7 separate regions of the Homo sapiens genome follow, and regions 2, 3, 4, 5, 6 and 7 are each linked to region 1. Evidence: promoter capture Hi-C in 16 types of primary human blood cells and fetal thymus (Javierre and others, 2016). All regions are on one chromosome and are shown on one strand. Each heading gives the region's core, a stretch centred on a gene start or on the middle of the fragment in contact. The rest is flanking DNA. Distances are from core to core; before and after follow the strand shown. Region 1 holds the start of EXO5 (exonuclease 5). Region 2 has its middle 25 kb from the start of PPT1. Region 3 overlaps LOC105378676 (a long non-coding RNA gene). Region 4 overlaps PPT1 (palmitoyl-protein thioesterase 1). Region 5 overlaps RLF (RLF zinc finger). Region 6 overlaps PPT1 (palmitoyl-protein thioesterase 1). Region 7 overlaps LOC105378671 (a long non-coding RNA gene).

Evidence for each region. Contacts are between HindIII fragments. The CHiCAGO score rates a contact against its expected background, and 5 or more counts as called.
Region 2: a contact is called between a fragment that was not itself captured here and the fragment with the promoter of EXO5 in region 1, in 8 of 17 cell types (naive CD4 T cells, naive CD8 T cells, naive B cells and 5 more). The highest score is 9.2, in naive CD4 T cells.
Region 3: a contact is called between a fragment that was not itself captured here and the fragment with the promoter of EXO5 in region 1, in 1 of 17 cell types (fetal thymus). The highest score is 5.6, in fetal thymus.
Region 4: a fragment that was not itself captured here is called in contact with the fragment with the promoter of EXO5 in region 1 in 8 of 17 cell types (total B cells, total CD4 T cells, naive B cells and 5 more); the score reaches 9.0 in total B cells.
Region 5: a contact is called between a fragment that was not itself captured here and the fragment with the promoter of EXO5 in region 1, in 5 of 17 cell types (naive CD8 T cells, naive CD4 T cells, total CD4 T cells and 2 more). The highest score is 6.8, in naive CD8 T cells.
Region 6: a contact is called between a fragment that was not itself captured here and the fragment with the promoter of EXO5 in region 1, in 4 of 17 cell types (naive CD8 T cells, non-activated CD4 T cells, total CD4 T cells and 1 more). The highest score is 7.3, in naive CD8 T cells.
Region 7: a fragment that was not itself captured here is called in contact with the fragment with the promoter of EXO5 in region 1 in 2 of 17 cell types (naive CD8 T cells and activated CD4 T cells); the score reaches 6.3 in naive CD8 T cells.

The regions. Positions count from the first base shown.
Region 1 is chr1:40,506,960-40,510,043 of GRCh38, reverse strand. It overlaps EXO5 (exonuclease 5), which reads right to left and starts at 1,277. Exons shown (of 4, transcript NM_001346953.2): 1 at 1,136-1,277; 2 at 419-593; 3 at 254-311. It overlaps EXO5-DT (EXO5 divergent transcript), which reads left to right and starts at 1,349. Exons shown (of 2, transcript NR_187365.1): 1 at 1,349-1,455. RefSeq lists enhancers at 871-960, 991-1,240. The HindIII fragment of the contact is 5,200 bases long and covers 38-3,084 here.
Region 2 is chr1:40,120,477-40,123,389 of GRCh38, reverse strand. No RefSeq gene overlaps it. Among named protein-coding and RNA genes, the nearest start is that of PPT1, 25 kb to the right of the region's middle. The HindIII fragment of the contact is 1,890 bases long and covers 567-2,456 here.
Region 3 is chr1:40,850,894-40,853,998 of GRCh38, reverse strand. All of the region lies in intron 1 of LOC105378676 (a long non-coding RNA gene), which reads left to right. Among named protein-coding and RNA genes, the nearest start is that of CITED4, 9.9 kb to the left of the region's middle. RefSeq lists an enhancer at 1,911-2,000. The HindIII fragment of the contact is 4,104 bases long and covers 1-3,105 here.
Region 4 is chr1:40,091,494-40,094,248 of GRCh38, reverse strand. PPT1 (palmitoyl-protein thioesterase 1) reads left to right here. Exons shown (of 9, transcript NM_000310.4): 2 at 1,742-1,851; 3 at 2,077-2,204. Among named protein-coding and RNA genes, the nearest start is that of PPT1, 4.4 kb to the left of the region's middle. The HindIII fragment of the contact is 1,680 bases long and covers 666-2,345 here.
Region 5 is chr1:40,183,820-40,186,977 of GRCh38, reverse strand. The region is part of intron 1 of RLF (RLF zinc finger); the gene reads right to left. Among named protein-coding and RNA genes, the nearest start is that of RLF, 24 kb to the right of the region's middle. RefSeq lists a silencer at 243-432. The HindIII fragment of the contact is 6,433 bases long and covers 1-3,158 here.
Region 6 is chr1:40,074,201-40,076,700 of GRCh38, reverse strand. The region is part of intron 8 of PPT1 (palmitoyl-protein thioesterase 1); the gene reads left to right. Among named protein-coding and RNA genes, the nearest start is that of PPT1, 22 kb to the left of the region's middle. The HindIII fragment of the contact is 2,472 bases long and covers 15-2,486 here.
Region 7 is chr1:40,145,784-40,148,892 of GRCh38, reverse strand. LOC105378671 (a long non-coding RNA gene) reads left to right here. Exons shown (of 3, transcript XR_947232.3): 3 at 642-1,192. Among named protein-coding and RNA genes, the nearest start is that of RLF, 14 kb to the left of the region's middle. The HindIII fragment of the contact is 9,755 bases long and covers 1-3,109 here.

The DNA.
Region 1 (3,084 bases), core at 28-2,527:
GCATTTAGTAGTATGCTACTTGCCTTTTGAGTAAGCTTGGACAAGGTTCTAGTTTTCCTGAAGTTACTGACACATTTTTAAAATACCTACTAACCCTACTGAGATATCCGACCATTGAGTGATAACATATAGTACGCATATTAGCACTCGATGAAGATAGATCTCCTTCTTTTTCCCCAAGGAAGAGATGAGAGAGTGTATCGATTCCCCCTGACAAAGGAGATGAAACTTTAGAAGAGAAACTCCTATTCACCTGTGACTTCGTTGATCTTCCTCCTCATAGGGAAGGCCAGAATGCTGAAATGACAAGGCTAGGGAAGAGAAAGAAGTTCTGAAAGACCAGGTCTGCATTAAAGAACCTAAATTAGCAACTTAGGTCCTTGCTATGGTAGAACCGGAACTTCTGGTCCTTTCTTACCTGACCATTCCCTCACGTTGGGTGTTTTCTCCTCTCACATTGACACTGCACAGACTGTTACCCACCCCAGATCCTAGGTTACATAACGCTCGCCTCTCTCCTGGGGCAAACTCTCTCCATGATTTCTTCGTTCCCCCGTACTCTAGATGCAATGACTTGATCCAATCCCTGCTCCCTGAAAGTAAAAGGGTCAGACATAACCAAGATCCCCAAGGAGCTCCGAGATCAGTTCCCTCTTCCAGCTCCATTCTCAACCCAGCAGCTCAAGCAAGAGACCTTATGACAGCGGCTCTTTCTCTCAGATGGGTTACTGCCTTCTGCAGAATTGCCGATGGCAACATCCTGACTTGTTCAGTGCGGCCCGGACTTGTGGGCTCCGCGGGCGTTTGCCTTCAGGGAAGATCTTTCCTCTGGCCCTAAAGCACTGTCTCCCAGGGAGTGCCATGCATGCCCTAAAGTGTACTGAGCACTTCCTACAGTTCTGGCAGAGCCAGGAATAAGAACAGGGAGCCGTCCACCTCGGGAAGGAGTCCCGGCCAACAGCACTGTGTTCCGAGGGCGAAGGTCCAGAACGGGAACCCGGCCTGTGAGGGGAGACGAGACGAGCCGCTTCCCGGGAGCCGCGCCCACCAAGGGAGGGAGACGCGGCGATCGCAGGGACAGAACCCTAAGCTCCGAAACGCAGCCTCCCAGCCCATTCTCCGGCCTTCCCCTAACCTCTGATACTCCTCCGAACCTCGGACTCCACCTGGTTTCGCCGCGGCCTCGGAGCTGCTCCCGGACGCTCCCGGCGAGGAGACTGAGGAAGCCGGGCAGAGCGCGCTGCCGGAGCGGACTACACAGTCGGCCCGCCACTCGCAAAAAAGCCGCCCAGAGCCCAGTCCCAGAGTGCCCCGCGGCTGCCCACGGACCGCCTTCCCAGAGGCCCTCGCGGCGCCGCCTACCTCGCGAGGCTGCGGCTGGGGCAGAAATCCGTCTCTGTGAGCGGAGGAGGGTGTGCTTATGCGAGAGCAGGTTTTGGGAGCTCACTAAAGCAGGTCAGTCCCTCTGTTTGCGCCGTTGTCTGTGGGTCGTTTAATTCCGGGCGCAGCTGATCTGTAACTTCCCTCACTGGCGAGGTCTCCCAGTTACCACCGGGACAATCCGAGCAAGGTCTGGGCCCCTCGCTGCCCCCGGTGAAGTGCCGCGTCTCCGCTTGGCCATCCGTGGATTCAGCATCCCCACCTTAGCACCTCCCGCCGGCTTTTCCATTGAGAGCAAAACCACGAACTCACTTTTGAGAGATGCTGGCGCTCCCCTCATCAATATTTCTTTTTTTTTTTCTGTTTGCTTACTTTTAACTAACCTTTTATTGATAAATATAACACAATTTTATTCTGAAATATAAACCAAAGATAAGTATAATTATGAACAGCCAAGTCATTAGAGCGAAAAAAGAATAGTGTCAGGTTCTTCACAGATACACTTCCTGAGAAAACCACTAGCCCGACTTTTATAACACTTTGCTTTTCTTATTTATATTTATTTATTTATTTATTTTACCAAAAGCAGATACTTGACTCTTTGCTTTTCTTTACGGTTTATCACGCATACTTGAAAACTGGATTTATGACAAAGGTGGCATCATACAGCCATGGAGAAAAGATGGTCTATTCAGTGAAGGTTCTATGACAATATGAAGGCCGGGCACGGTGGCTCACGCCTGTAATCCCAGCACTTTGGGAGGCTGAGGTGGGCGGATCACGAGGTTAAGAGATCGAGACCATCCTGGCCAACATGGTGAAACCCTGTCTCTACTAAAAAGTACAAAAATTAGCTGGGTGTGGTGGCACACACCTGTAGTCCCAGCTATTCAGGAGGCTGAAGCAGGAGAATCGCTTGAACCGGGAGGCGGAGGTTGCAGTGAGCGGAGATCACACCACTGCACTTCAGCCTGGGCAACAGAGGGAGACTCCGTCTCAAAAAAAAAAACAAAACAGAAAACAGGACCTCTATCTCTCATTTCATCACAAAAATCAATTGTAGCTGGATTAAGACCTAAATGTGAAATCCTAAACTATAAAGTCTTCAGAATATAATATAGGAAAATATCTTTGGACTTCAGAATAGGTAAATATTTTAAAACAAAAATAGAAAAACATTAAATTGGCCAGGCATGGTGGCTCATGCCTGTAATACCAACACTTTGGGAGGCCCAGGTAGGCGGATCACTTGAGGTCAGGAGTTGAGACCAGCCTGGCCAACATAGTGAAACCCCGTTTCTAGTAAAAATACAAAAAATTAGCCAAGTGTGGTGGCAGGTGCCTGTAATCTCAGCTACTTGGGAGGCTGAGGCAGGAGAATCACTTGAACCTGGGAGGCGGAGTTTGCAGTGAGCCGACAACAGGCCACTGCACTCCAGCCTGGGTGATAAAGTGAGACTCTGTCTCAAAAAAAAAAAGGAAAAAAAGAAAGAGAAAAAAGGAAAGAAAAAGAAAGAAAGAGAAAGAAAGAAAAGAAAAGAAAGAAAGAGAAACATTAAATTAAGACAACTACAGGCTGAGTGCAGTGGCTCACACACCTGTAATCCTAGAACTCTGGGAGGCCGAAGTGGGTGGATCCCTTGAGCTCAGTTCAGAAACCAGCTGGGGTAACATGGTGAAAACACGTCTCTACAAAAAATACAA
Region 2 (2,913 bases), core at 262-2,761, 390 kb after region 1:
TTTGAGCCTAATCCTCTTTGGGCACACTGACAGAGCTCAGACCCTGGGCTAGGAAGTCCCTGTTTGGCCAGCTTGTCAGCCTCTTTTGCTGTCATCCCTAGTTCACTTAAATGGAACTGCAAGAGTTACAACATTCTGTATATTTCAATTAACATTACTGTACTAGGGAAAGTAGTGATGCTTTCTTTCCAGTTGGAGATTTATTGTCTCTAAATTGGGGGTCTTCTCAATCCAAGTTTGCCCTGTGAACATGTTGTGAAATTGTCATCTGAAGCAGGCCCCTCAAAGATGGTTGAGAAGCCTTGCATTTTCCTGAAGAGCAGAGGACACTGTTTATCTTGGCAGAATTCCAAGCCCAATCAGTAGATATGAAAAGCAAGAAGAAAGGAGCATGTGTTCAAAGTTTTTCTTATCAAGTCTTTAGAGTGCAGGCCCTGGGAAAAATGCTGCAGGTACATTAGGATGGAAAGACTATGTTGGGAGAAGGCCCTTGGCTAATGAGAACATAGGTCTGGTAGAATATTGAGGAGCCCTTTAAGGAGAAAACAATTAGCTTTTTCAAAGCTTTCCTTTTAGAGACCAACTCACTATTATTAGTAAATTAAGACATACTAAGAAATAGATTATTCAAGAAAAAGGACTTCAGCCACAGAAGTAAAATGGGCAGAGTTAGAGCAAGAGGGAGCAAATATTCAATAGGAAGCAAAGAGTAAACAATACATGCATTCGTTGCTAGTAATAAGGTAAAAAATGCAAGAGAAAGCACATTAAGGGTTCTATTTGACCTTTCTCAAATAAAGAAAACTGTATTTAAAATAGTAGCCCCCATTTCTGATGAGATTGTGATAAAATTGAGGTGAGGATAGGAATGAAAATAGGAATACCATTTGGGAAAACAAAATAGCCATAATTAGCAAAAGGCTTTTATTGAGTGTATAGTTCAATGACTTTTAATATATTTGCAGAGTTGTACAACCATTACCACAATCTAGAAACAGTCTTGAAAATATTAATATCCTTGAAATTACTCCTGGATCAAGAATTAATAATAACAGCAGTTGTTATTCTGTATAGAGTACTAACTCAGAACCAAGCACTTTACATGTAATTTATTCATTTCAATTCTCACAACAATCCTATGAGGAAGGTGTTATTAGTGACCCTTCTTGATAAATGAAATACTGAGATATAGAGAAGTTAAGAAATTTGCCCAAACTACCATGGATAGTGTTAAAAACCAGATCATCTCTTTCCAGAACCTATACACATAAGCAACTACTACACTATAAGGAAATAATACAACAAAAGTAAAAAGCTCCATGCAGGAAGAGTTAATTACAGAATTCTGTAAGATCCAATAATGGGCATAAGTTAAATGGTCTACAATCCACAAAGAATAGGTTTAGTAGATTTTGGTGTGTCTGCTACTCAGCCATAAAAAGGAAAATAGTAGACCCTGTACAAATAAGGAAAATATTTATGATATTCAATAGCACAGTATAGTAGTTGTTGGATGAATGAATAAGCCAGCATAGCCCCTGCCTTCTTCAATATCAGTCCTTCACAAATGATCTTCAATTGCTATATACCCAGGGCCAAACCCAGTGTCTTCAATGCACGGGGCTCTCCAAGTGGCTGTGGGGTGGTAAGATCTCTTCACTGGGTGAGCCACAGGAAATGACTCCAATAGTCAGGTTCCTTCTGAGCTAAGACCTGGCTGGGCATTGGAGATGTTCTCCAAGGACAAAGGTATTTGTTTTTGTTTTTGTTTTTGTTTTTTGAGATGGAGTCTGTGTCGCACAGGCTAGAATGCAATGGCGCAATCTTGGCTCACTGCAACCTCAACCTCCTGAGTTCAAGCAATTCTCCTGCCTCAGAGTAGCTGAGATTACAGGCACGCGCCACCACGCCTGGCTAATTTTTGTATTTTTAGTAGAGACAGAGTTTCACCATGTTGGCCAGGCTGGTCTCAAACTCCTGACCTCAAATGATCCGCCTGCCTTGGCCTCCCAAAGTGCTGGGATTACAGGCATGAGCCACCGTGCCCAGCCCCCAAGGACAAAGTTTTGATGGTGTCCTCTGTGTCTGCAAAATATTGAAAAGACACCTGCATGTGAACAAAATCTGGAAGACAGTATGCAAAAAATTAAAACAGTTGCAATGTTTGCTGGAAGAATTGTAGGAGGTTACTTACTTTTAAAATTTTTTCTGCAATGTTGTTACACTATCTTTTTCAGCAATGTTTTGAAGAAAAGGGATCTCCTTGATCTTCATCTTGATGTTCCTAAGACAAAAGCCAAATCAATGAATGACTCATTGCTGGCCACATCTGACCCAAATGTTAGACACTGACAAGACTCCATCCTCCAAAGAATATCTTGGTTAGAAGTATTTAATTGTTCTAGGTTCTGGAGATATGGCAAAGCATAAGATTGAATCCCTGCTCTCTCAAAGCTTACATACTAGAACTGTGTTGTCCAGTACAGTAGCCACTGGCCACATGTGGCTATCTAAATTTAAATCAGTTAAAATTAAATTAAATTAAATTAAAAATTCTTTTACTCATTCACACTAGCCACATGTCAAGTGCATAGGAGTCATATGGTAACTAGTGGCTACTATATTGGACAGCTCAAATATAACAATACTTCCATCATTGCAGAAAATTCTACTGGTTAGTCCTCCTTTAGACAGAAGAGTTTGATAATAATCAAGTAAACAAAAATGGACAAGAGTAAACATTGCTCTGAAGAAAATAAAAAACAGTGCTGCCTTGTATTGTAGACTGATGGTCTTGGGAAGGCATCTCCGAGGGACTCCCATTTGAGCTGAAAAACTAATGACAAGAATGAGCCAGTCATGCAAAGATTTGGGTACAGAATGTCTCAGGAAGAAGGTGAGGCAACTGTAAAT
Region 3 (3,105 bases), core at 603-3,102, 340 kb before region 1:
AAACTACATACATGACATTTGGCAAAGCCACTTTACCACTGTTAGCCTCTGTTTTTGTTTCTAAACTAAAATATGTTCCAATACTTACACACTCAACAGATGGGATTAAACGAGCTATTGGCTGATGTACTTAGCACGGTGCCTGGCATGCAGTAAGTTCCCAATAGCAATAGCTATTTCCAACTTGGCACAGCAGTGCTGAGTCAGCAATAGCTGTGAGTATGTCCAGAGAAGGGGTCCAGGGTGGGCAGGGAGGACTTCAAACCATGTCCCACGCAAATGGCTGAAGGACGGGGCTCTTCAGCCAGCGGAGAAAGACCCAAGGGCAGAAGTAGGCGTCTGCTATTTATGCCTTCCAGGATTTAGTCACCCTTCTCCTGATAAAAGGTTTCCCAAAAATTCCTTTGGGAAACCACCTCTCCCTCGTTTATAGCCCACGTAGCTTGGGTAAGTTTTCTTGTTCCCCTGTATGTGATTCAAAATAAAATACTGCTTAGCTGTAAAATCAGTGTAAGGAAGCCCCAAATCTTTCCATGGCTATTTTGCAATAGCAATACTTTATCTTCTTCTCCTCCTCGTCCTCCCCTTTTTCTTCTTCGCATCAAAGTCTTTCAAATTTGCAGCTAGTACCTTAAACACATGAGCTGTCTGCTTGTTAGGTCATTCAGTACTGACTCATGATATCTCACCTGACTCGCTGTCATCTAAGCTAGCGCATTATTATTCCAGGTTATAGAGAGATGAGGGAACTGTGGCTTACAGAGACGAAATGACTTGCCTGCTTCCACACAGCTAGTAATTTATTGAGTTAAAATATTTAACATAATTGGGATGGTGCCTCGCACATAGTAAGAAATATTTAAGTGTTAGCTGCTACAACAAAGAGAACAAGAAAAGTGGATTTCATTTTGTTTTGTTTGAGACAGAGCCTCACTCTGGAGTGCAGTGGCACAATCACAGCTCACTGCAGCCTTGAATTCCTTGGGCTCAAGCAATCCTCCTGTTCCCAAGTAGCTGGGACTACAGGCGCACGCCACGCCATCCAGCTAATTTTTTAATTTTTGTAAAGATGGAGTCTCACTATGTTACCCAGCCCGATCTCAAACTCTTGGGCTCAAATGATCCCCCTGCCTGGGCCTCCCAAAGTGCTGGGATTACAGGCATGAGCCACCGTACCTGGCCCAGAAAGATGTTAAAGTGGCTTGCAGAGCAGAAAAGACTTCTTTCTGATTCCACTCCGTCATTCAGACCCAGATTGCTTGCTTCCTGTTGCTCTGCTTTTCATGACTCCAACCTCGTGGGCCAAGATGTCTCCTCAAAGTCCAAGTTGGCTTTCTTTCCTTTTCTATCTTTTTCTGCAGAGCGGAATCTGGGTCATGGACATCTTTGTGTCTGGCTCTCAGGAAGGTGAGACTGAGGAGGTGAGCACACCTGGTGTTCTAAGGCCCAGTGACTCATGTCACTTTTCAGATTTTCTTGACAAGAATTTAATTACATGAGCACACTTTGCAGTAAGGAAGGCTGGGAAATACGGTTTCTAGCTGGCGACAATGTGTTCATCAGTAACTTAATTACTCTGGAAGAGGGGAAATGGATTTTGGTAGACAACCAGCAGCCTCCACCACAGCCAAGTGACAGTAATAAGTGGCTCAGTTGAGATTAGAACTCAAGTCTCCTATGCCCCAGAGTACTTGGTACAGATGGGGAAGATATCAGAGGCCTGAGTCCTACATAAAGAGAATTGTTGCCTGGGCACAGTGGCTCACGCCTGTAATCCCAGCACTTTGGGAGGCCGAGGAAGGCAGATCACCTAAGGTCAGGAGTTCGAGGCCAGCCTGGCCAACATGGTGAAACCCTGTCTCTACTAGAAATACAAAAATTAGCCGGAATGGTGGCACGTAGTCCCAGTTACTCGGGAGGCTGAGGCTCGAGAATCACTTGAACCCGGGAGGCAGAGGTTGCAGTGAGCCGAGATCGCACCACTGCACTCCAACCTGGGTGACACAGCGAGACTCTGTCTCAAAGAAAAAAAAAAAGAACTGTTTAGATTTAGTAGACCTGGTAGCAGTCATCACTATGAATACTCATCTGTGGCAACTCACTTCCCTTCTTTGAGTCTCAGTTTCCTTGTCTGTAAAATGAGGATAGTAAGGGGCCTTACCCATGAGTTGCTGCTGTGAAAACACTGACCACAGTTCATAACACATACTAGGTACTTACACAGTGGGAAGGATGGGGTAGAATTTGAACATGAGCACGTGAAAGAAGGAAATTCCAAGGGAGGTGACAATGTGTGCAAATGCCGAGTGACATGAATGAATAAGACTTTACTAGGAAAGGCAACAAGTCCGGGGTGGTTAGTGTGTAGGGTGCATGGTCAGCGGGGGAAGGGTTGTGCTCGGAGTAGGCAAGGGTCAAAGAGGGGTGACCCTTAGTGGCAGGCTGAGGAGCTTGAACTTGATTCTGTTAGTAATGGGGAGTCACAGACGACATGAGCCGAGTGGAAACAGTTGGGTTTGTGTTTTGGAAAGGTCACTCTGGCTGTGGTGAGTAGAATGGATTTGAGAGGGGCAGGTGGGAGAAATGGAGAGCGCTGAGAAAGCATGAAATGCAATGTCTAGCATACATGAATATTCTTTTGAAGAATGAATGACTCTATCTCGATTACTTAGGATTATGCACGTGGCTTTGAGTGACAGAAAAACAGTAGCTTAAATAAAAAGAACCAGGTAGGTAGTCCAGAATGGGTGTAGTTATCCATAGTGTCAGCATCTAGGCCCCACCACCTTGTTGCTTTGTCATTTGTGGGTTAGACCTCATGATCCAAAAAGGCTGCTCGAGCTACCATATCAACATTCCAGCCAGAAAAAAAGAGAAAAGAGGAGTCGTGAACTTTCTGGAAGTTTTCTGCCCCTAACTACAAAAGAGGCTCAGAAATGTAGTCTTTATTCTGGGTGGCCATATGTGTAAGCAGAATTCAGAGGTTCTGCTACTGGGAAGAAGATGGGAATGGATCCTGCAGTCACGATAATGACCCACTGATGTGGAGGCTACAGGAAAGGAGTGGAAAATGATTCCCAGGGGTGTGGCTTGGGGCACAGAGTG
Region 4 (2,755 bases), core at 256-2,755, 420 kb after region 1:
AAATTGTCTTCCACAAACCTGGTCCCTGGTGCCAAAAAGGTTGAAGACCGCTGTCCTAGATGCTTAATTTGCCTCACCCTAGTCCTGGCCCTGAAGAGAAAACTTTGCATCTGTTCACCCCAAATATCCCCTGTGATAGGGGAAGGGAATGTGTACCTCTGCTTATTTTTCATTTGTAAATTTGGTGTCTTAATTATCCTATATGGGCTTTTTGGTTTTTTTGAGACAGGGTCTCGTTATGTTGCCCAAACTGGTCTCGAACTCTTGGCCTCAAGCAATCCTCCTGCCTCGTCTTACCAAAGCGCTGGGATGATAGGTATGAGCCCATGCTTGGCCTATATGGATTTTTTTTTTTTTTTTTTTTTGAGATGGAGCCTTGTTCTGTTGCCCAGGCTGGAGTGCAGTGGCATGATCTTGGCTCACTGAAACCTCCACCTTTCAGTTTCAAGCGATTCTCCTGCCTCAGCCCCCCAAGTAGCGGGACTACAGACATGTGCCACCACACCCGGCTAATTTTTGTATATTTAGTAGAGATGGGGTTTCACCATGTTGCCCAGGCTGGTCTCGAGCTCCTGACCTTGTGATCCACCCACCTCGGCCTCCCAAACTGCTGGGATTACAGACGTGAGCCATGACACCCAGCTCCTGTATGGACTTTTGAAGCTTGTTATTACTTGATAAACAGGAGCTAAGCAAAAAATGTTCTTTCTTCTGTTTTTTAAAATTGAGGTAAAAATTCATGTAAAGTTAACCATTTAAAATGGTACGATTCAGTGGCATTTAGTGTATTTGCAATGTTGTGCAACTAACACTTCTTTTTCAACACCCCAGAAAAACACACATAGCCATTAAGCAATCACTCCCTATTGCCCCCTCCTACTACTTCTTGATAATCTCCAGCTTAGTTTTCTGTATCTCAGTGGATTTGCCTGTTCTTTATTTATCCTATGAAAGGAATCATGCATTATGTGGCTTTTTGAGTCTGGCTTCTTTCACTTAGTATAATGTTTCTGAGGTTCATTCAAGTTGTAACATGTGTCAGCACTTTGTTCCTTTTTTATAACTCAGTAATATTCCATTGTGTGAATATACCACATTTTATTCATTCATTCATTGATGGACTGCTGGATTGTTTCTCCCTTTTGACTATTACAAACACTGCTGCTGTTAACATCTATATGCAAGTTTCTGCATGGACGTGTGTTTTTATTTCTTTGGGGTGTATAACTAGGAGTTGAATTGCTGAGTCATTTAGTAATCGTATGTTTAACTTTTTGAGAAACCACCAAACTGTTTTTCACAGTGGCTGCTTATTACATTCCCACCAGCAATGTCCAAGGGGTCCCATTTTTCTACATCGTTGACAATACTTGTTATTTTCTATTAAAAAATTATTATTAAAGACATCCTAGTCTGTGTGAAATGGTATCTCATCGTGGTTTTGGTTTGCATTTCACATGCCAGTGGTTAGCCATTTGTATATCTTCTTTGGAAAAATATCTGTTTAATTTCTTTTCCCATTTTTAAATTAGGTTATCTTTTTGTTGAGTTGTAAGTGAGTTATAGATTCCTTGTATATTCTGGATATTAAGCCCTTATCAGATAACTGTTTTGCAAATATTTTCTTCCATTCTATACATTGTTTTCACATCCTTGATAATGCTGTTTGAGGCCTCAGAGTTTTTAAACAATAAACAATATTTGGACTCATGAGTTTCCATCATTGTGTTTTGTTGGCTAGGAGACAGCTGTTGCAATCCCTTAAGCATGGGTGCTATTAAAAAAATGGTGGAGAAGAAAATACCTGGAATTTACGTCTTATCTTTAGAGATTGGGAAGACCCTGATGGAGGTAAGGCGCTTCACAGCTGTTCCTTTGAAGGGTTGCTGACTGATTTCATAGCATATACTGTTAAAATGCTTTGCCTTGTGTTTTCAGCAGCAGATCATACAGTGATACTTTCACCCTTGAGTGGCTCATGTGAGGATACCAACCTAAATGAGTTTACCTCTTAGAGAAGATGTCAGTGGTTGTTTTCAGTCCCATCCTCTCACTTCTCTCTGGCTTCTTTTTTAGGACGTGGAGAACAGCTTCTTCTTGAATGTCAATTCCCAAGTAACAACAGTGTGTCAGGCACTTGCTAAGGATCCTAAATTGCAGCAAGGCTACAATGCTATGGGATTCTCCCAGGGAGGCCAATTTCTGTACGTTCCTTTTTGTTATATTGTACCACTTATATGGAATTGATTTTTGTTTCTTTTATTCAGATAAATCCACTCCTCCAATTCAAGATTGTCACCTATCTTGGAAGGGAAATTTCCTAAAATGTTCCTGTGTAAGAAGCTTTATGGAACTTAATTTCTTTTCTTTTTTTTTTTTTTTTGAGACAGAATTTCTCTCTTGTTGCCCAGGCTGGAGTGCAGTGGCGCGATCTCAGCTCACTGCAACCTCCACGTCCCAGGTTCAAGTGATTCTCCTGCCTCAGCCTCCCGAGTAGCTGGGACTATAGGTGCTCACCACCACACCTAGCTAATTTTTTGTATTTTTAGTAGAGATGGGGTTTTACCATGTTGTCTAGGCTGGTCTCGAACTCCTGACCTCAGGTAGTCCACCCACCTCAGCCTCCCAAAGTGCTGAGATTACAGGTGTGAGCCACCATGCCTGGCTGGAGCTTAATTTATTTTCTATGAAAGTTGAAAGAAATATTTGCATTTGCCCATATCAGGAAAATCCTGAAACTCTGCGGGTTTGGGGA
Region 5 (3,158 bases), core at 42-2,541, 320 kb after region 1:
AGTAAGTTACTTACTGTCTGCATTGGCTAATCTAAGAATTAAGGAGTTTCAAAAATTTATATTTAGTGCCAGATTTATGTTCCTTAAAGTCAGACATTATGTCTCATCAATCCTTATAGGCCTACCACTCCTCTACCCACTTCCACCCCCACAGGACATTCTCAAGTCTCACTAAATGTCTGCTGAATACATTCACCATTTTATTCATTTGACAAATATTTTTCAATAGATTATCACACATAAAGTGCTAGATGCAGTGGGGGCGGGCAGACATGTGGCCTATCCTCACAGAGCTTTCAGAATGAGTCAATACAACATGATGGCTGAAACCACACATGCAAATTAACCAACTGCTAACTAAAGTATGCAAAGAGAAGGACAGAGTGCATACAGATGGGGTTAGTCTTTCCACAATCCACCTGTCCACTTAGAACGCTCTTGCCACCAATCTAATAGCTTCTGACAGACATTCCACCAGGACTTCTGTAAGCTACACAATTTCAAAGATTCAATACTCTTGAGGAACTTCCAGTTTGCTCTATACTAATTTATACTTTTTATATTCCTAAATCTTTACCCCCTCATGTGTTGGTTCAAATTAAGTAGTGAGATCTCTTATACCCACTATAAGCATACTCTGGGTATGTGAAGAATGGCTGGAATAATCAATCTTCTTCATTATCACTTTTTTTTTAAATTGAGATAGAGTCTCATTCTATCACTGCTGGTGATCCTCCCACTTCAGCCTCCCAAGTAGCTGGGACTACAGGCATGAACCACTGTGGCTAGCCAGGCATTTTCTTTCTTTCTTTTTGTTTTTTTAATCAAGTCTCACTCTGTCACCCAGGTTGGGGTGCGGTGGTGAAATCTCGGCTCACTGCAACCTTCACCTCCCAGATTCAAGTGGATCCTTTCACCTCAGGCTCCTGAGTAGCTGGGATTACAACTGTGCGCCACCAGGCTCGGTTAATTTTCCTGTTTTTAGTAGAGATGGGGTTTCACCATTTTGGCCAGGCTGGTCTCGAACTCTTGACCTCAAGTGATCCGCCTGCCTTGGCCTCCCCAAGTGCTGGGATTACAGGCAAAAGCCACCTCGCATCCAGCCTTTGTGGTTTTTTTTTTTTTTTTTTTTTTGCTTTTTTTTTTTTTTTGAGACAGTCTCACTCTGTCAGCCCAGGCTAGAGTGCAGTGGCACGATCTTGGCTCACTGCAAGCTCCACCTCCCAGGTTCACGCCATTCTCCTGCCTCAGCCTCCCAAGTAGCTGGGACTACAGGCACCCGCCACCATGCCCGGCTAATTTTTTTTTTTTTTTTTTTTTTGTATTTTTAGTAGAGACGGGGTTTCACCGTGTTAGCCAGGATGGTCTCGAGCTCCTGACCTCGTGACCTGCCCGCCTCGGCCTCCCAAAGTGCTGGGAGCCACTGCGCCCGGCTTTTTTTTTTTTTTTTTTTTTTTTTTAATGCAAGATTAGGTTGAAAGGATTACAGCCATCCAAATAACAGGATGGCTGTAATCCTTTCAACCTAATCTTGCATTTAAAAAACTGGACTAGGCAAGGTGGCTCACGCCTGTAATCCCAGCACTTTGGGAGGCCGAGGCAGGTGTATCACTTGAGGTCAGGAGTTCAGACCAGCCTGGCCAACATGGTGAAACCCTGTCTCTACTAAAAATACAGAAAGTAGCCGGGCGTGGTGGCGCATGCCTCTAGTCCCAGCTACTTGGGAGGCTGAGGCTGGAGAATTGCTTGAACCCGGCTAGAGTTCAGTGGTTCAATCACAGCTCACTATAACCTCAAACTCCTAGGCTCAAGTGATCCTCTCTCCCACCCACCTCAGCCTCCTGAGTAGCTAGGACTGGAGAAGTGCATCACCATGCCCAGCCAATTAAAAAAAACTTTTTTTTTGTAGGGACAGGGTCTCTTTGCTGCCCAGTCTGGTCTCAAATTCCTGGGCCTCAAGTGGTCCTCCCACCTTGGCCTCTCAAAGTGCTGGGATTACAGGTGTGAGCCACTGTACCCAGCCACGGTCTCTTATTTTTCTTTAGGAACTGAAATCACAACTGAAGAGAAAAGGGGCAATAAATGATAAAGATGACCTCCTAAAGTTCATTCTACAGTGACCAAATTAATGACCTCTCTCTTTTGTTTCAGTAAACTCATTCCACAAATACCTACTATTTTGTACTGTGCTGGGAAGTAAGGATGGAGACTCTATTCCTGCCCTTGAAAGGCTATGATATATACTAAGGGGTCAGATATATAAGTAAAAAATTAGCTCACTTACGCACCATATTTGACTATTCGGTGCTCTCATTCACATCCCAAGCAGATTACCCTCAAATTACTCTCTCAAGTCCTTGCTATATACCTCAACTGCCTATTACATATTTCCATCTGGATGTCCTATTCAAATCTCAAACTCAGCATGTCCAAAACCAAACATCTTCCCCAGCAAATATGCTCTTCCTCCTATGTTCCATCTGCCTCCTTTCAGGAGCCAGAGCTAAAAAACTATCTTTGAAACCACCACACCAAAGTTTGTTGATTCTATCTCAGAAATATCTTTGTCTCCTGTCCCTATGCTTTATCTCTGTAGCCATTCACCTAAACCAGGCCCCCAATATCCCTCATCTAGACTGCTACATTGGTTCACTTCTCTAGGCTAAATAACCTCTAGTTCTGTATATGTGTTATAATCACGTATGTCTGTACATTGAAAAAATTAATGTCCAAGGGGAAAATGACTAGAAGAAATTAACTAAAATGCTTACATGGTTAGCACTGAGGTAGCAGGAATATGAGCAATTTTTGTCATCTTTATACTTTTCTAAACTTCTCAAATTTTCTTTAATAAGCATGACTACATTTTCAAAGCAAAAAAAATCTCCCCTCACCCTTAATTCTCTCTACATTTCTCACTACATGGTTTCAAGGAGCTTGGCAGCATTCTGACTATTCCTTGAAACTATCAAGAAAGGAGAATTTCTTTCAGGATGGTCACATTTAATGTTTAAAGAATACATTCCAATTTAAATTTCACATAGTTCAGGATTAACTTTCCTAATGAAATAATTATATTTACTGAGCACATAGTATGGGTTAGGCACTTCCTAAGAGCTTTACGGCCACTAAACTTATTTAATATGCACAACTCCATG
Region 6 (2,500 bases), core at 1-2,500, 430 kb after region 1:
ATATGGGTGAAGCTTGTTAGGCTCTTGATTATGTGCTCTAGCTTATTAGGCACTGGGTTACAAAAATCCACTACATCCTGAAACCTTATGGTTTCCAAACAACAAGAGAAACCTCATGTCTGATTCCCTTCTTTTGATAAAAAGGTTTTAAAACTAGCTGCCTTGGCTGAGGTACAGTCTGCTACAAATCCAGGAAGCCTCCATGCATGATGAGGGGCATTCCTTTTTTTTTCTTTGAGACGGGGTCTCGCTCTGTCACCCAGGCTGGAGTGCAGTGGAGCAATCTTGGCTCACTGCAACCCCTGCCTCCCAGATTCAAGCAATTCTCCTGCCTCAGCCCCCTTAGTAGCTGGGATTACAGGTGTGTGCCATCACACCTGGCTAATTTTTGTATTTTTAGGAGAGATGGAGTTTCACCATGTTGGCCAGGCTGGTCTTGAACTCCTGACCTCAGGTGATCCACCCACCTCAGCCTCCCAAAGTGCTGGGATTACAGGCGTGAGCCAGTGCGCCTGGCCAAGGGACATTACTTTTAAACATTAATAGATGTGAAATCCTGTTTCTAAATTACGCACTGACAAGGGAGGCTCCTGCAGGAGGTTGAGTGGGACTAGAGTTTTGAATTTTGTTTAGCAGTAGGTCCTGTATCTTAAGCAGAAGTTGCAGTAATTTGCCACCTCCAGTTCTGGGGCCTTCTACACTTTAAGGATTTTTTTTTTTTTTTTTTTTTTTTTTTTTTTTTGAGACAGTCTTGCTTTGTCACCCAGGCTGGAGTGCAATGGTGTGATCTCAGCTCACTGCAGCCTCCACCTCCTGGGTTCAAGCGATTATCCTGCCTCAGCCTCACTAGTAGCTGGGATTACAGGCACACGCCACCATGCCTAATACTTTGTTTTGTTAGTAGAGACGGGGTTTCACCATGTTGGCCAGGCTGGTCTTCAACTCCTGACCTCAGGTGATCCACCTGCCTCAGCCTTCAAGAGTGCTGGGATTACAGGTGTGAGCCACCACGCCCAGCCCTAAGGATTTTATATTGGAGACAGACTCTCCAAAATGCTAAGTACTACATCTGAACCAATCACCGTCTACTAGAATTCCTCCATGTTATTTCAGAGGTCATTTGTCTCCTCTTGGCTTGGCTTTTCTTTTGCACTGGGTGCCTCAACTTGGGTGGTGAGGTAAAAAGGGAAGCTAGAATCTGATTTGAGAAAAAAAAAAAAAAAGGCTTGAGAAATTACAGCTAAGAACTTCCTTACTGTGAAAACTCAAAATGATGTTGGCCACGGCAGAAGCACCATTCTGGCACTGTCGTAACTGCTTATCTTCCCAACCAGAGGTTGTTCTCCAGCATCTAGGCTATGGGTAATGACATTTTCAACTCCAGAATATGAAAGTGTCCAGGGTTTGTTACCTAACGGTTGGATATGGTTTTTCTGTTTTGTTCTTTTGAGACAGTTTTGCTCATTGCCCAGGCTGGAGTGCAATGGCATGATCTCAGCTCACTGCAACCTCCGCCTCCCGGGTTCAAGCGAATTCTCCTGTCTCAGCCTCCCAAGTAGCTAGGATTACAGGTGCCCGCCACCATGCCCAGCTAATTTTTGTATTTTTAGTAGAGACAAAGTGTCATCATATTGGTCAGGCTGGTCTTGAACTCCTGACCACAGGTGATCCGCCTGCCTTGGCCATCCAAAGTGCTGGGATTATAGGCGTGAGCCACCGCGCCTGTCCTGGGTTGGATGTTTTTTAAGTTACCTAGCTAATGTTCTGTCTTTGGCTCAGTCCCACTTACCTATGGCATTCTGAGGCAGTGTCGTCTATGGCTTGCCCACCTATAGGTAGTCCTCTGACTCTGAGCTTTTCAAAAATCAGAATCTAGAACACTGTATAGAGCAATCTCAATTGCATATCTATTTTTAATACTTAGAAAAAACTGGCCGGGTGTGGTGGCTCACGCCTGTAATCCCAGCACTTTGGGAGGCCGAGGCACGTGGATCACCTGAGGTCAGGAGATCAAGACCATCCTAGCTAACACAGTGAAACCCCATCTCTACTAAAAATACAAGAAATTACCCAGGCATGGTGGCATGCGCCTGTAATTCCAGCTACTCATGAGGCAGAGGCAGGAGAATCGCTTGAGCCAGAGAAGTGGAGGTTGCAGTGAGCCGAGATCGCACCACTGCACTCCAGCCTAAGCAACCGAGCAAGACTCCGTCTTGAAAGAAAGAAAGAGAAAGAGAGACAGAGAGAGAGAGAGGAAGAAGAAGAAGAAGCGGGGGGGACAGGAGGAGGGGGAGGAGAGAAGAAAGAAAAGAAAGGAAGAAAGAGAAAGAAAGAAAAAGAAAAAAGAGAAAGAAAAAGAAGTAGGAGATATTCTTTTTGGCATTTTTGAAAATACACCTCAATTTTAATACTCAGGACAAACTGCATTTTGAAAATATATCTCAAGTTAACGTACTTACCATTTTACTCCAAAACTTCATTAAGCTTTTTAATTAATTAT
Region 7 (3,109 bases), core at 452-2,951, 360 kb after region 1:
TTTTTGTATTTTTAGTAGAGACAGGATTTCACCATGTTGGCCAGGTTGGTCTCAATCTCTTGACCTCGTGATCCGCTCGCCTCAGCCTCTCGAAGTGCTGGGATTACAGGCATGAGCCACTGCGCCCAGCCCAAATATTATTTGGCTTTATGTTATCACTGTTGTGTGTGTCTCCCCTCTATAGAAGGTAAGTTCTTTGGAAGTAGAGTGACTTGCGTCATTCACCGCTGTATCCCCAGTGTCTGGTACAGTAGTTCCGGGCATATTGTGTGCACTCAATGTTATGAAAGAAGACTTTTTAAAGCATATGGTATTTAAATGGGTATTTAAATAAGATCCACTGGGGAGAGTATAAACTAAGGGTCATAAATTTATATTCCTACTAGCCTTTGTCAGCTCACCTAAATGAATGACACAGGCTGGGTATAAGATGTTTGGAAAGAATGAGTTGATTAAGAAATGACCCAAGAAGCAGGTACTCAGCTCCAGAAAATTATTGCCATATGAGAATACAGAACTCATTTTACTAGGTCTGCTAATTCTCCAAGATAAATTGGAAGTTCAGTTTTGGTTTTGTTGTTGTCGTTTTTCTTTTATTTGATTTTGTTTTTTAACACGATTTCCTATTTTGAAAACTGCAGGCCAAATAATACCCACCTGTGAGTCCAGTGTGACTGATGAGCCAACGGTCTGCAACCTCAAAACAGAAAGAAGGAGGAGGGTCCAAGATCTTGCCAACACTAAGATGTCAGAGGAGTAGGATCCAGCCATCAAAGAATGTTCAGAACCCACTGAACAGACAGAGGGAAAACCAAGAGTGTGATATTCCTCAAGACAAAAGAAGAAAGCGGCAGGAAGAAGCTGAATGGTCAGCTTTGTAGGCTGCTGACAAGAGTTTGGGTAAGGTGAGGACACACAAATGTCCATTTGATGTGACATCATGAGTATTGGTTGGTAACCTCAACTAGAGAAGTTTCTGTAGATCTCTGGTATGGAATCCTGTCTGAAGAAGATTGAAGAATTAATGTGAGATATGAAAGTAAAAAGAGCAGGGCAATTACCCTCTTCAGAAGTTTTTCTGAGAAAGAGGAGAATAAAACCGGGGCTGTGCTATTAAGGGGATATGAGGTTTTGGAAGGAATTCTTAAAGATAAGTTTATTAGTATGTTCTCATGCCTGTAATAAAGACATAACCGAGACTGGGTAATTCATAAAGGAAAGAGGTTTAATTGACTCATACTTCCACACGGCTGGAGAAGCCTCACAATCACAGCAGAAGGCCAAAAAGAAACAAAGTCGTGTCTTACATGGTGGCAGGCAGAGAGTTTGTGTAGGGGAGCACCCCTTTATAAAACCATCAGATCCTGTGAGACTTACTCACTATCATGAGAGCAGCACAGGAAAGATCTGCCCCCATGATTCAGTTACCTCCCACAGGTACCTCCCACAACGCGTGGGAATTACAATTCAAGATGAGATTTGGGTGGGGACACAGCCAAACCATGTCAACAGGAGATTCTAGAGCATGGTTGCATGTGTATGGAAATGATACAGGAAAATAGGAGAAAATTTAATGTAGAAAACAGGGTGGGGGGATTGCAGGAGAAAAGTCCTTGAGAAGGCAAGAGGGCATGGCATCCAGAATACAAGAAGTTTGATCTGCAATAGAAATTAGATATGTATTTTTATTTCAAAAGGAGGGAATCTGGAGAGTATGGGTACAGATGCAAGTAGGTGTATAGATTTGGCAGTGGGAGATTTGGGAGTCATTGCCTGAGTGCTTCTTTTTGCTCCATGACTTGTGAGAGAAAGCTGAGGTGGTAGAGAAAGGCAATGTTGAGCCTTTGAGGAGACAGTAAAAACTTTGTTAGAGTTGTTTTAGAGTGAGAAAAAAAGAATGCATTCTAGATATGTGCAGGAAGATTGCAGGACAGTGTTGAGTGGCATCATTCATTTACTCAACAAATATTCACTGAAAGTCTACCATGTTTCAGGTACTGTCCTAGAGGCTAAAAATACATCATGAAAAAAAACAAGTCCTGGGTTTTATATTCTTTTCTCCCTCAGAAGTTATAATACAGTTAATTTAATTGCAACTTTCTTTATCATATTCCAGTTCTATGGATACTCCCAGGTCCCCCCCATACCCCCCAACCCAACCACCGGCTTGAGTGAACCTAGATATCTCTCAATACATCATGAGTAAGACACAAACGATGAGTTAGAGTGGTTACATTTTTAAGATCCATCTGTTTAGATTCATGGAACATTGTGGACAACTACTATGGTCAAGGTAAATTTTTCTCATTATGGGTAAAACCCAGAGGGCTCTAGGGTCAGGTTTGTCAGGTTTGGATCCCAGCTCCGACTGCTTATTCGTTGTGTGCCTTTAGATCATTTAATTTCATTGAGCCTTGGGTTCCTCATCTTAAGGTGGACATTGTAACAGCATGTGTCTCATAATTCTCATAGTTGTGGGTCCTAATGAGATTTATCCAAAGAGCGGAGAATGAGGCCAGATGCACAGTAAGCACTCAGTGTCACTAGTATTACTCCTATAAGGTTCAGCTTCAGAGGATAACTTTAGTTTCCTTTACTGTAGTCCCTCCACACCTACTGACCATGGATGCCATCTATTTTCACGACTTTGTCCTGTGAGTGACAAAATGATCAAGAGGACAGACCCATACTGTGGATCATCAAAGGAGCTGATTGATTAGGCTAGGATTTCTGATTTGCAAATTCAATAACTTGATTCTATCATTTCACCTAGGTTGTGATTAAGGCACAAGAGCCCAAATTACTAATTTACCTTAAGAAATATAATGGTATCTCTACAGAAAAGTCAGCTTGGGAAGCAAAATTAACACCGGAAGTTTGCTTAGGGAGGGTACAATTGGTGTAAAGGGAATGAGAAGATCTTAAACCACCATTGTTCCAACACCCTAGCTTCTCCCACGGTTATTTTTTATCCTTTCTTTCTCTACCCCCCAAATCTAATCAGGTTAGATTCTAAGTCCTATTAATTTGTGCTCAGGAAACTTTCTCCCATATTTTCTCTTACCCATTTCTACTTCTCCATGCCTGGGGAATGAGAGTATATAGATAA